Regions from separate parts of the Homo sapiens genome. Here region 2 is linked to region 1. Evidence: promoter capture Hi-C in human tissues and cell types (Jung and others, 2019). All regions are on one chromosome and are shown on one strand. Each heading gives the region's core, a stretch centred on a gene start or on the middle of the fragment in contact. The rest is flanking DNA. Distances are from core to core; before and after follow the strand shown.

Evidence for each region. The method cuts DNA at HindIII sites, captures the fragments that hold promoters and counts their contacts. A contact is called where the count stands out against the background at its distance.
Region 2: a contact is called between the fragment with the promoter of DOCK6 here and the fragment with the promoter of ELAVL3 in region 1, in 14 of the 25 tissues and cell types used here (IMR-90 fibroblasts, bladder, dorsolateral prefrontal cortex and 11 more).

What each region holds. Positions count from the first base shown.
Region 1 is chr19:11,478,256-11,484,907 of GRCh38, reverse strand. It overlaps ELAVL3 (ELAV like RNA binding protein 3), which reads left to right and starts at 3,862. Exons shown (of 7, transcript NM_001420.4): 1 at 3,862-4,308. The coding sequence starts at 4,300. ZNF653 (zinc finger protein 653) reads left to right here. Exons shown (of 9, transcript NM_138783.4): 8 at 767-866; 9 at 1,049-1,479. The coding sequence ends at 1,226. RefSeq lists silencers at 2,056-2,495, 2,526-2,775, 5,150-5,344. The HindIII fragment of the contact is 31,814 bases long and covers 1-6,652 here.
Region 2 is chr19:11,257,162-11,264,711 of GRCh38, reverse strand. It overlaps DOCK6 (dedicator of cytokinesis 6), which reads left to right and starts at 2,188. Exons shown (of 48, transcript NM_020812.4): 1 at 2,188-2,315. The coding sequence starts at 2,272. RefSeq lists silencers at 2,104-2,263, 2,334-2,393, 2,474-2,613. The HindIII fragment of the contact is 27,433 bases long and covers 1-7,550 here.

The DNA.
Region 1 (6,652 bases), core at 2,613-5,112:
AGCTAATTTTTTTTTTTTAGTAGGGACAGGGTTTCGCCATGTTAGCCAGGCTTGTCTCCAACTCCTGATCTCAGGCGATCTGCCCACCTTGGCCTCCCTAAGTGCTGGGATTATAGGTGTGAGCCACCGTGCTGGGCAGAAGTTTTTTTTGTTTTTGTTTTTGTTTTCATTTTGCGAAATCACCCAAAGTTCAAATATCAGGGACAAGGCCGGGCGTGGTGGTAATCCCAGCCCTTTGGGAGGCTGAGGTGGGCAGATCACCTGAGGTCAGGAGTTCGAGACCAGCCTGACCAACATAGAGAAACCCCGTCTCTACTAAAAATACAAAATTAGCTGGGCATGGTTGGTGGCACATGCCTGTAATCCCAGCTACTCAGGAGGCTGAGGCAGAAGAATCGCTTGAACCCGCGAGACCAAGGTTGTGGTTGCGGTAAGCCGAGATCGGGCCATTGCACTCCAGCCTGGGCAACAAGAGCGAAACTCCGTCGCAAAATATATATATACACACACACAAGACAAATTCAGACCCATGTTGGCTTGGTAGTGTGCACCCTATGCCTCTCAGGGACCCAAGTTCGATCTCAGTTCTGCTTGATGGCGTCTGTGGGCAAATGCACGGGAAGGACGTAGGGTTTGGTCGGCCTGCACCTGCAGTCCTGGGAGATCCAAGGAGACAGCCTGATGCTCCTTCTAGCATCAGAGTCTGCAGCACATCAGAGACACCCCATAGCCCACCGTCCTCAGCCTCGGTCCCCACCGCCCCCAGGTGTCCGTGAATTCACCTGCGAGACCTGCGGCAAGTCCTTCAAGAGGAAGAACCACCTGGAGGTACATCGGCGCACCCACACCGGCGAGACCCCCCTGCAGTGAGTGACAGGCCGCCCCGTGCCGCTAGAGGATTGGGTGGGAGGGGATCCCAGCAGGTCCCAGGGGCGGCTTCGCCCCAACGCAGTGTCTGGGCCCGGTTCCACCTGCGCTCGGCCTTGTAGGGCCCCGCCCCGCCCCGCCCACTCTGACCCCGCCCCGTCCCGCCACGGGCTCCCGGCAGGTGCGAGATCTGTGGCTACCAGTGCCGGCAGCGCGCGTCGCTCAACTGGCACATGAAGAAGCACACTGCGGAGGTGCAGTACAACTTCACGTGCGATCGCTGCGGGAAGCGCTTCGAGAAGCTGGACAGCGTCAAGTTCCACACGCTCAAAAGCCACCCGGATCACAAGCCCACCTGACCCACCTGACCACTGACCGCCCCTATTTATTCGTCCGCTCGGACACCACGCCCGGGCTTGCCGGGGCCTGGACAGCTGCGAGGGCCGCCCGGACCGCGGGCCGGAAGGAGGCGCCCCCGCCCCGCCCCAGAGCTGGGCCCCCTGGGCAGGTTCCCCACCCCGCCCCACCGCATCCTTCTCGGAGCTGGTGCCTGGGGCTGCATTGCTGGAACTGTGTCAAGAGAGCAGAGTGAGATTAAAGAGCGAGAAAGGAGATGCCCTTCCCCTAGGCCTGAATGATTTGGGGTGCCAGGCCCCTCTCTGTCTCCAGCCTACTTGATCCCTTCCTAAGCGAGGCAGGGAACGAGGGATGCCCCTGGGCCCAGCAGCCTCGCACAGCCCCTGCTCCCACAGGATGGGGTGAGGCTTGGGGGTCTGGGGTCTCTGGGCATCTCCCGGAACTCAGGACCCTAATTTCCACTTCCTCCTGTTTTATGGGGCACCCATCTCCCACCCTCAGTGAGCTCCGGGATGAGATGGGGAGGTGTTCAGTAAACCCCTAAAATGAGAAACATTTGCAGCTAGCGACAAGCGCCATGCAAAAGAGAGAGTGATGCGTTGTTTTCCGGGGATGCTGTTTAGGTCGGTGGTCAGGGAGGGCCTCTGAGGAGGTGGCATTTGCGCATAGACCAGAATGACAAAGATCTATCCCAGAAGAAAGCTGGGGGAGGAAATTCTCAGGCCAGAGGAACAACCAGTGCCAAAACCCCGAGGTAGAACTAGCTCGGCGTGTTCCTAAAACAGGAAGCCGCGGGGGGAAGGGGAGTTGGCGGCGGCTGCCCTGGCCCCATTTCCCGGAGGAGGATGCTGAGGCCGCCGCCTCCTGCGGGCCGCTAGAGAGAGGGGCGGGGAGCGAGGCGCGGCCGCTAGGTGGCGTGCGAGGCGCGTAGGCCCTGGTGGCCGCAGCCACGTGACCCTGGGGACCGCAGCCGCGAGCTCAGGCACGTGCCCGGGGGAGCCCTGTGGCGCCACGCGCAGATTGGCCCCGCCGGTTCCTCACCAGTTCGGGGGATGAGGCGGGGCCCCAGCTATGCCTCAGTTCCTGCTGCGGACCGGGGGGCTACCCCAGCCGGGGACAGAAGAATCGGCAAGGATGAGCGAGTCCGGCCGCTGGGGCCGCCCCCGCGAGCTCCCTCCCCCCGCGAGGCAGGTCCCCTCCACTCTCCCCGCACTGCCGGAGCCGGCAGGTTTCCATGGGAACCGCAGCGGGGTCCGCGCGCCCAGGAGCAGCCCCCCTCCTAGCTCAGTTTCCGATGACGGAAACCGGGAGGAACACGGGGTGGGGAACAGACCATCGCTTGGGGCCCCTAGCGCCCGCAGCCAGGTCGCCCCGGCGAGCCCAAGAGGGGCCACCCGGGGATCTGCACCGCCACCGCCCCTATTGCGCGGGCCACTGCGATTGGCCTGCCCTTTCCAGGCGTGGCAGCATCCCCTGGTGCGCGCACTCCCATTGGCTCGATCTCTAGGGCATCTTCCAGTAACTGGTTATCTCAAGGGCCGCCCCTGATTGGGCAAATTAGGCTCTCCTCGCTGGTGGCGCTCTCTGACAGTCTGGAGCCTAAAGGGCGTGCAGGAACGAGGATTGGGTGGGGACTGCCGCTCTCCAGTTAGGGGGTCTGGGCTACCTCGCCGGCAGCGCCCTCGACCGGACTGTCGGATTGCTGTCTGTGGTGCTGAAGCCTCACGCCCTGGCGACCCCGCCCCAGTGTGTGCTAGTTCCCGCGCCCCGACGTAAACATGCACCGGCGCCCGCGCACCAAAGGAGGCTGCGCCACCCCCAACGCCTTAGAGAGAGGCCAGGTTCCCCCTAGCAGAGAGCGAGCATGACTCCACAGTCAGGAGGACCAATCACGAGCCTAGAAAGCCAGGACATTTATGTGGCAGATCCACCCACCCCAGTTCTGTGGGGTCCAAGAAGGATCCGTGGTTTCCCAGAGCTGCATGGCTCCAGCGATGATTGTCCAGAACACTGAGCCCCAAACCTTTTCACCCCCTTCGGAGCAGTGCGGAGTTTCCTTGCACTGGGGAGTGCCAGTCCTTACCTTTTGAACCCTAGAAGGATCCAGCTCACTCAAAACCAACAGCGTCCCAGTCTCCTTCTGCAGAAGACTAGGGCCACAGTAGCCACCCTCCCCCGTGGTCTTGAGGTGGTCTACACTGGTGCCTCCAAATCTGGGGACCCAGGCCTCTGCCTACTAAAATATTGGTTCCTGATCCCCTGTCCAGTTCCCTCAGTGGACAACACCTCTGGAAGGTCGCATATTCAGGCCACTAATACCTCCTCGCTCTGTTGGCTCCTCCAGCTCTAGGAGCTGGACGGAGGAGGGGAGCCCGTCTCCTGGCCCGAAAGCCAGCCCAAGAAGGGGTGCCAGGGTAGGAAGCAAGGGCCTCGAGGGAAGGAGGGCCCAAATCTGGCAACCCGAGCACCTAGGATGCGCTTTTGGGGGATTCAGAGTCCCGACCAGTGCGCGCTCACTTCCACCTGCCGCGCCGTCGGGAGCCGCGAGGAGGCGGAGCTCGGTCGCCGCAGCCAATGAGCGACGCCGGCGCTGGCAGCTGCTGCTATAAAGGGCTGGGGGCGGCGGCGGCGCGGTCCAGAGCGCGGAGCGCGCAGCGCGGGCCGGAGGGAGGGAGGGAGGGTGGGCGAGGGGAGAGGACTTGAACACACGGGACCGGACAGGACCGACCGAGGGGCGGCGGCGAAAGGCAGAGCGCCGCGATCTCTGTCGGGAAGCGCAACCTCCCCGGGCCCCGCGGGGCCGCGCAGGGGGCGTCCTCAACCCCGCGCCCGCTCCCTCTTTCCATCCCCTGCCGCCCGCAGGCCACCCCGGGGCCCGGCCATCCGCGCGCGCATCCCCGGGTTCGGGCCCGTCCCTGGCCCTCGAGGGAGCCGCCGCCTTCATCGCCACATCTGCAGCGGCCGCACCAGAGGCCGCCCGGGCGGGACCCCAGCGTGAGCATCGGGCGCCCCCCTAGGAGTGCACCACCCCCGGAGCCCCCCTCAACACGGACCGCGCCCGCCGGGCACACAAGAATGGTCACTGTAGGTATTCCCCTGTCGCCGAAAGGGAATCGGGACGGGGAGGAGTTGGGCCCAGGCTCCGCGGAGATTGGGCGGGTGCGGCGGGGGGGGTAGGACCAGGCCTAGCTAGGCCCGGGTTGGGGGGGTAGGACCAAGCCTCGGGGCCTGAGAGTGGGCAGGGCCGCGCCCAGAGTGCTGAGGGCGCTTAGAGCTTGGTCTGAGAGGGCCTTAGGGAGACTGACTGCGATTCGGGAGGCGTCCGACGCCGCCCTGGAGGCGGGATTGCCCCCTCTCCAGCAGGCCTGATGGGGGAGGGGCCGCGGCGGCTAAGGATGCTTCCTCCATCCAGGCCCAGACCCCGCAGGCCGCCCAGGCAAACGCAGGGCCCGATCACTGGTGCTGGGCCAAGCCAAAGCGACAAAGCGTCCCCGAGAGCCCTGGGAAAGCGGGTGGCGTCGGATCGCGCGCCCCGGGCCTCGGCCGCACCCGGGAGGCGGGCGTCTCGTCCTCGAGCCCGTCGACCTTGCGGCAAGCGGGGAGGGGAGAGGAGGGGGCGCGCCCGGAGGCCCCGCGGGCCCGCCGCCGCTGCTGCCGCGTCCCTTTGTTTCTCGGCGCTTCTTCGCGGGCCGCAGCCTCGCGCGGGCGCCTCGGGCTGCGGGGAGGGGGAGGGGAGAGGAGGGCCCGCGGGTTGGGGGGGCACCTCTGGGCTCCCGGGTCTCCGCCCCCCGGGAGATGGGGTGGGAGGCCGAGACAGCCCCCTTAGGCCAGGTCCAGGCTCCCCACCTCGCCAAGGCTCTGGGCCGCGAGGTGACCTTGAGCGCGGCCCGCCCGCCTGCTCGCCCGCACCGCTAGCCCCGCGCTCGGTGCTTTCAGCAGCCACGGAGCTGGTCAGCTCCCGAGCGCGCAGCCCCTCCCGCCCTGCCACGCCCTGCCTGGCCACGCCCGGGCACGCCCATCTAGGCCCCGCCCCCAGGGCCCCGGGGGCCCGGCCTCGCCCGAGCCCTCGGATTCCCACTCGGCAGCCCGGGCGTATCCCGGGGGCGGGGCTGGCCAGTTATAGCCCCACCCCGGCTCCACCCCCGCCCCTGCCGCGCGACTCCGCTCCCCGCGCCGCCGCGCGTCCTTTGTCTGGTCCCGGCGCCTGGGCCTCCCTCTTCCACTCTTCCTATCTCTCCGTCTCTGCGTGTGTGTCTCTGTGCATTGTGTCTCTTTCCGGGCCCCTTTTTCGAGTCGTGGCTAGCACTGGGGGTGGGGGCATGATTGGCGCTCCCTCCATGCCTAAGCCTCTCCCCTCCTGGACCCTGGGACCCGCCCACCTGGCTCTGAGAAATGAGGTCCCGGAGGCCTGGCTCACCTGCTGTGTGACCTCAGGCCGTTCCTTTCCCTCTCTGGGCCTCGTGCTGTTCACCCAGGTCTGGGAACTGGAGTGTGGCCTCCTGAGGACCTCAGAACTCCCGCAACAGTCCAGCATCTCCTAAGCGTCCTCTGATCGGTTCTCTCATTTGAAAAAGGAAACTAATGCACAAAGGGAAAGAGGGTGTGGTCAGAGGTCACACAAGGGCCTTGAGGACCTAGGTTCTCCAGTGAGCGAGCCCTGGGGCAGAGATGTATCATGGGGACAGGCTGGGAGGAAGAGAGGTGACAAATTAAGACCAGGAGGACCCTGCATTGAAGAAGGGCCCAGAAGTAGGAGGCTCAGTCAGCACCACGTGGTAGCCCAGCCTCACCATGCATAGCCACTCAATGCCCTATTGTCGCCGGTATCCAGGCATCTGTCACTGTGACTGGGGCCAGGGGCCGCAGCTGGGGGCCGTGGGGGTCAGACACAGGAGGTTTTAAGAAAAAAGTGGCCTCAGGTGTGTTCACTGCAAAACCCATACGTCAGATGTATGTGCGATGGTGGAAAAGAGGAAGAGAGAGTGATGAGGCCAGGGACACAGAACGGTTCAGAGAGAGGGCAGGACAGTGGAGAAGAGAGGGAAACAGAGGAAGAAAGAGGGAGAGAGAAACCAAAAGTCGGGGGAGACTTAGAAGAAGCACTGGAGAGAATGGGAAGCTTCCCTAACCCTCCATCTTTTATCTGCCCTCCTCCTCCCTGACTTTGCCACCCCCCCATCTCTGTCTGGGGCCAGTCGCCGAAGTCCCTTTGATGCCCATGTAGCCACCATCCCAGGCTGTGCACTTACTGCAGGCTGGGGCAGGGCGGGTGTGGCTTCCATCAATCTGATCCCCATTATCAGCTCAGCCGGCTCAGCCACAGAGGAAACGAGATACTGGTCCCGCTAAGCTCTGGCACAAATGGGAGGGAGAACGGGTGGTGGCCAGATTAGCAGGCTAGGCCTCAAGAACCTGGGTCTGAACCACC
Region 2 (7,550 bases), core at 939-3,438, 220 kb after region 1:
GGCTAAGAAATGTGCAAATCTTCGCTCATCTGCATATTTCCTGCCCAGCCTAGCTCCCAGCAGCCTGAGAGGCAAGGCGGGGACACTTGGTGGGGCATGGCGGGGAGTGATGGGCGGAGCTCCACCTGGCCAAAGTGGCTGGACCACTCCGGGCAGGCACGTGGGCTGTGTGCACATGTCACATGCCAGGCTGTGAGCAGCCCTACTGCGGCCTGACTAGCAGGATGCTATCCTGCGTCTGACTGGCAGGGTTTGGGGGTTCCCCTACAATCCAGGCCTCTTTCCTGTGGGTTCAAGGTCTGACATGGATTCATTGGGCAGCAAGGCAAGAAACTGTGTCTCGGGGGTGCATGGTGACTCAGGGTGGGCATGTGGCTCATTCCTGTAATCCCGGCACTTTGGGAGGCCGAGGCGGGTGGATCACCTGAGGTCAGGAGCTCCAGACCAGCCTGGCCAACATGGTGAAACCCCGTCTCTACTAAAAATACAAAAAATTAGCCAGGTGTGATGGTGGGTGCCTGTAATCCCAGCTACTCGGGAGGCTGAGGCAGGAGAATCGCTTGAACCTGGGAGGCAGAGGTTGCGGTGAGCCGAGATTGTGCCATTGCACTCCAGTCTGGGCAACAAGAGCGAAATGCCACCTCAAAATAAATAAATAAATAAATAAATAAATAAATAAATAAATAAATAAATAATAGAGGATAAAATGCCAGCAACCCATAGATGGGAATGAGAACAGCACGTGCAAAGGCCCTGAGGCAGAGCCACGGCCTTGTCTGATTCAACCTCAAATTCTCCCTGGGGCATTTGCTGACCAGGGAAAGAAGGGCTGTCCAGGAGGAAGGACCTGCCGGTGCAGAGGCATGCAGGTGAGAAAGGGGTGAGCTCCTCCAGAGGGGAGTGTCGGCTGGAGAATTCTCTAAAAATGCTGCAGCAGTGCTGGGAGAGAGGCCAGTGGGGAGAGATTTGAGACCATAGATTAACCAAGACATCCCCACCTCTTCCTCTTGGTAGAGGCGGCCCCGAAAGTCTAGACTCCCAAACTGGCTCACTCAGGTCCCACCACCTGGACCTGGGGCACATCTCCGAGCACTCCAGTGCCTAGCCAGGCTCCTCTGACTCCCATGCTGTAGACTGGGAGCACGGACAATGCAGGCGCTGGAGACCCCTGTGAGTCACACTGAGCAAGCACCCGAACACCTCTGTGCCTCAGTTTACTCATCTGTAAAAGGAGGAAAACAATAATTTCTTCTGCATGTGTGAATTGCAGGGCCAGGCTCAATGACATCTTAGCAATTAGACTTTTTGAGACAGGGTCTCGCTCTGTCACCCAGGCTGGATTGAAATGGCACAATCACAGCTCACTGCAGCCTTGACCTCCCAGGCTCAAGCGATCCTCCTCCCTCAGACTCCCAAGTAGCTGAGATTACAGGCACACACCACCATGCCTGGTTAATTTTTGCATTTTTTGTGGACACGGGGTCTCATTATGTTGCCCAGGCTGGTCTCCAACTCCTGGGCTCAAACAATCCTCCTGCCTTGGCCCCCCACAGTGCTGGGATTACAGGCATGAGCCACCATGCACGGCCACGATTATACTTACAGGTATGATTATTAGATACATGAACATCGTTATTGTTTTCCAGCCAGGAGTCAGAGGGCAGAAAGAGCGCCCCCCAAACCCCGGAAATCTGGGGCCTACCCAGCCTGGGTCCCAGCGCCTCCCCTCCCTCCCTCCCTCCTGAGCTTCAGTTTCCCCAGCCCTGCTCCTGGGGTGGTAAGACCACCCCACTAAACCCCGGGAGCCTGGGGTCCACCTAGCCCGGGTCTCAGCGCCTCCCTTCCCTCCCTCCCTCCTCAGGCTCAGTTTCTCCAGCCCAGCTCCCAGGGTGGAAAGAGCGCCCCCGCCAGCTCGGGAGTCTGGGGCACCCCCAGTCTGGGTCCCAGCGCCTCCTCTCCCTAACTTCCCTCCTCAGCCTCAGTTTCCCCAGCCCTTCTCCTAGGGTAGAAAGAGCGTCCCCCCAGCCCGGGAGTCTGGGGCCCGCCCAGCCTGGATCCCGGGGCCTCCTCTCCGTCCCCAGCCTCAGTTTCCCCAGCCCCCAGGACTCCAGGCGACCCCTCCGGCCTGCAGGGGCAGCACGGAGCGGCCCGGGCCACCCGGAAGGGCCCCGCCCCCGCGCCGGCCCCGCCCCGCCCCGGCTGCCCAGAACCGGGAGGCGGCGGCGGCGGCGGGGCCGGGGCCCGGGGCGGCGGCGGCGGGACGCGAGGACCATGGCTGCCTCCGAGCGCCGCGCCTTCGCGCACAAGATCAACAGGTAGTGTGGCCGCGGGGCCCCCTCCCACCTCCCCCACGTGGCCCGGCTCCGCCCCGGGGCGGTGCGACCCTCCCCGCCCGGGCGCCCCCAATTCAACCCCTTTCCGCCTCGGCCCGGGTCCCGCCAGCTTCCTCCGGCCGGGGCTGGGAGCGGGAGAAGGCGGGGAGGGCCGCGGGGGTCCCGGCGGGGGTCCCAGATGGGAGTCGCGTCGGGGCTGGGAGCGCGATGGCGGCTGCCGTTCTGCCTCCGTGACGCGCGGGGGTGTGTCCGGAGGGCTTCCCGGAGGAGGTGGCGTGGGGATGCGGATGACGGGCGCCCCCTGAACTCCCTGCGCTCCCCGTCCGCCTCTCGGCCCCTCACTGTCCCCGCGCTCTCGGAGATCGGGGTGGGCCGGACTTTCTGTTCCTTCCTCAGTGCCTGGTTTGGGGCAGGGAGGCTCCAGGCTCTGAGATTTGGGGACAGAGATGGGCTCCTTGGTGGCGTTTGAAACCCCTCGAGGAGTTTCCCGTGCCCTTCCCCCTCCAGGGTCCAGTGCCCAGCTGTCGGGGGGGGGGAAGGGGGACAGCTGTGGACGCCCCCCCACCTTCTGCTTCAGGCTCTCCCGTCACGGGCTGGACCGCGCTGGGGATGGATGGGTGATTGAATGGAGGGAGTGGGGGCTGGGGACAGAACCAGCTGGTGGGCAGACGGGGGAGGGGACAGGCCCCAGGCGCTGGGGGATCCATTTCCGTGGCCACTGGGGATTGTGAGAGTCACAGCCTGGGAGGGGTATATCAGACTCTCTGGGGCTGAAAAGCCTCGCCCCCAGTTGGCGGGGGGTCTTTGCGACAAGGGTGCGTTCAGAAGCTCAGGTATCCTCTCCCCGGGGGACCTGTCCTGACTGCCCCCAGGTGAAAGAGCTGCCCTGTGGGTTGGGCCCTGGTCTTATGGAGACAAAAGATCCCCCTCTTGGGATATAGTGGCGGAGAGAGACCAGAAGCCTGATCGAGTAGATTACCTGTCAGTGACAAGTGCTGTAGGGACAAGAAGACAGGGAAGGGGGATGGGAGGGTGGGGGCTGCTTGAGATGCGGGAGGTGGGTCAGGAAGGCCTGGATGAGCAGGTGCCTTTGAGCAAAAACCTCAAGGAGATGAGAGAGGGATCGATCGAGGCCAGTTTGTGGGGGGAAAGAGTGGGAAGGGTTTGTGCAAAGGCCCTGAGGCAGGAACAGAGAGCTGGAGGGGGACAGTAAGAGTAGAATGTACAGGGTCGTGTGGGCTGTGCAAGGGACTTTGACTTTGGACCCCAGGTGAGGTGGGAGCCATGGGGAGTTCTCAGCAGAGGAGGGATGAGACTTGGTGGCTGGGGCGTAATGGCTGGGCAATTTTTATGTTCTATCATTATCTTTGTCTGTAAATTGGCTTTCAAAATGTCTTAGACCTTTGGCGTCTTTGAGGCTGCAAACATTATTGCTGTCTGTTTCTTTTTCTTTCCTTTTCTTTTTCTTTTCTTTCTTTCTTTCTTTTTTTTTTTTTGAGACAGAGTCTCGCTCTGTCACCCAAACTGGAGTGCAATGGCACAATCTTGGCTCACTGCAACCTTCGCCTCCTGGGTTCAAGCGATTCTTGTGCCTCAGCCTCCTGAGTAGCTGGGGTTACAGGCGCCCACTACCACACCCAGCTAATTTTTGTATTTTTAGTAGAGAGGGGGTTTCACCATGTTGACCAGGCTGGTCACGAACTCCTGACCTCAGGTGATCCGCCCACCTCCCAAAGTGCTGGGATTACAGGTGTGAGCCACTGCACCCAGGCTTTTTTTTTTTTTCCTTTTCTTTTTTTGAGACAGGGTCTTGCTCTGTCACCCAGACTGGAGTGCAGTGGTGATACCTTGGCTCACTGCAGTCTCAATCTCCCGGGCTCAAGTGATCCTCCTGCCTCAGCCTCCCAAGTAGCTGGGACTACAGGTGTATGCTGCAACACTCAGCTAACTTTTTAACCTTTTGTAGAAACGGGATCTCACTATCTTGCCCAGGCTGGCCTCAAACTCCTGGGCTCAAGTGATCCTCCTGCCTCGGCCTCCCAAATGCTGGGATTACAGGCGTGAGCCATTGCGCCCAGCTTGCTGTCTGTTTCTTTGCATTTTGGTCTGTATGTCCTTGGGTCCTGGTTTTTACTCAAGTGAGAAAGAGGGGTTTTGGATACTGTAGAGCTCAGGGTAAGAGTAGAGAATGATCCTGGGGCCCTAGTGAACTGTGAGGGAGTGGCCCAGGGCTTCCAGAGCAACTTCGCTCTTGGGCACCCAGGTGTCTACATACTCAGAGCTGGTCCTATATTCATCTGTTCATCCATTCAGTCATTTATTCCACAAATACCAGATTAACCCGAATATTAGACAATCTTCCAGCTACTCCAGAGGCTGAGGCAGGAGGATCACTTGAACCCAGGAGGTGGAGGTTGCAGTGAGCAGAGATCGTGCCACTGCACTCCAGCCTGGGTGACAGAGTAAGACTCTGTCTCAAAAAAAAAAAAAAAAAAAAGGCCGGGCGCGGCGGCCCAGGTCTGTAATCCCAGACTTTGGGAGGCCGAGGCAGGTGGATCACCTGAGGTCAGGAGTTCGAGACCAGCCTGGCCAACATGGTGAAACTCCGTCTCTACTAAAAATACAAAAAGTTAGCTTTTTGTAACTTTACAAATTTACAAAAGCGTGGTGACGCACGCCTGTAATCCCAGCTACTCGGGAGGCTTAGGCAGGAGAATTGCTTGAACCTGGGAGGTAGAGGTTGCAGTGAGCCGAGATCCCGCCACTGCACTCCAGCCTGAGCGACAGAGCGAGACTCCATCTCAAAAAAAAAAAAAAAAAAAGAAAAGAAATAATGATTCATTGGAGGGGTGGGAAGAAAATGAGGTATTTATTGACAAATTTCAAAATCCCAAAGTTACCACTGAAATTTCAGGTAAACATCTCTCTCTCTCTCTCTCTCTCCCCCATCCTTGAATATATTGGCAAACACAAGCACATACATATATTGTTATTTTTTACCATTTAAACAACTGTAACATACAACATTCATACCAAAAACTACAAATTTTGGGCCAGGTATGATGGCTCACACCTGTAATCCTACCACTTTGGGAGGCCAGGAGTTCAAGACCAGCCTGGGCAACATAGCGAGACCCTGTCTCTGCAAGAAACAAAATTACCCAGGTGTGATGGTGGCTCATACCTGTAGTCCCAGCTCCTGGGGAGGCTGAGATGAGAGGATTGCTGGAGCCCAGGAGGTTGAGGCTGCAGTGAGCCGTGATTGCGCCACTGCACTCCAGCCTGAGTGACAGAGTGAGACCCTGTCTCAAAAGAAAGAAAAAGAAAGTAGCCTGGGTATGGTGGCTCATGCCTATAATCCGAGCACTTTGGGAGGCTGAGGCAGGTGGATCACCTGAGGTCAGGAGTTCGGGTCTGTAGATGGTGAAACCCCATCTCTACGAAAAATATAAAAATTAGCCAGGCATGGTGGCGAGTGCCTGTAATCCCAATTACTGGGGAAGCTGAGGCAGGAGAATCACTTGAACCCGGGACGTGGAGGTTGCAGTGAGCTGAGATCACGCCACTGCACTCCAGCCTGGGTGACAGAGACTCCGTCTCAAGAAAAAAAAAAGAGAGAGAAAGAAAAGTTTAAAGAATAGTTATAGGCCGGGCGCGTTGGCTCATGCTTGTAATCCCAGCACTTTGGGAGGCTGAGGTGGGCGGATCACCTGAGGTCAGGAGTTCGAGGCCAGCTTGGCCAACATGGTGAAACCCCATCTCTACTAAAAATACAAAAATTAGCTGGGCATGGTGGTGGGTGCCTGTAATCCCAGCTACTCAGGAGGCTGAGGCAGGAGAATCGCTTGAACCCGGGCCGTGGAGGTTGCAGTGAGCTGAGATTTCACCACTGCACTCCAGCCTGGACGACAGAGACTCCATCTCAAGGAAAAAAAAAAAAGAGAGAGAGAGAGAAAGAAAAGTGCGAAGTTTAAAGAATAATTTGAAAGCAAAGGGCAAGGAAATGAGGAAATGGCCACTTGGTCAATTTCCCATGGGGACTATCTCCACCTTCCTGGCTCCCTCCCGCATGCCAGCACCCCTACCTGATCTGGCCTGTTTTAGATTGTCATATAAACTGAATCATGAGGTGTTGCATCCATGTGCCCAACTTTGTTCACTCAGCATCATGTCAGGAAGGCTCAGCTGGGCCATTGCCTGCAATCCTTTTTCATTGCTGGGTAGTATTCCCCTGCCTCATGCATTTATTTCCCTCTTTGGTCAGTGAACATGTGAGTTTCACTTTGGAGCTGTCATGATCAGAGGTGTCAACATTCTTGGCCATGTGTTTCCTTCTGAGTAATCCACACCTTGGAGTAGAATTGCTGGATTGGCATATTTTCAACCTTGCTTAATAATCACAGATGGTTTTTTCTGTGTGCGTGTGTGTGTGTACATTTGTGTTTATTAGAAATGGGGTCTCGCTATGTTGCCCAAGCTGGTCTTGAACTCCTGGCCTCATGTGATCCTCCCACCTCAGCCTCCCAAAATGCTGGGAGTATAGGCATGAGCCACAACACCTGGCTTATAGATGGATTTTTTTTTTTTCTTGAGACAGCGTTTCTTTCTGTTGCCTAGGCTGGAGTACAGTGGCGCAATCTCGGCTCACTGCAACCTCCACCTCCCGGGTTCAAGTGATTCTCTTGCCTCAGCCTCCCGAGTAACTGAGATTACCGGCATGTGCCACCATGCCTGGCTAATTTTTGTATTTTTAGTAGAGATGGGGTTTCACCATGTTGGCCAGGCTGGTGTCAAACACCTGACCTCAGATGATCTGCCCGCCTCGGCCTCCCGAAGTGCTGGGATTACAGGCATAAGCCACAGTGCCCAGCTTTTTTTTTTTTTTTTTTTTTTTTTAAGAGACAGTGTCTCTGTAGCCCAGGCTGGAGTGCACTGGTGCCATCACTGCAGCCTCAAACTCCTGGGCTCAAGCGATCCTCCCGCCTTGGCCTCCCAAAGCACTGGGATTACAGGTGCAAGCCACCATGCCTGACACTCATGGTTGCCATCTACATCTCACCTTGGTGTAAAAACAGGGTCAGAGGCCAGGCACAGTGGCTCACACCTGTAATCCCAGCACTTTAGGAGGCTGAGGCGGGAAGATCACGGAAGGTCAGGAGTTTGAGACCATACTAGGCAACATAGTGAGACCCCATTTCTACAAATAATAATAATAAT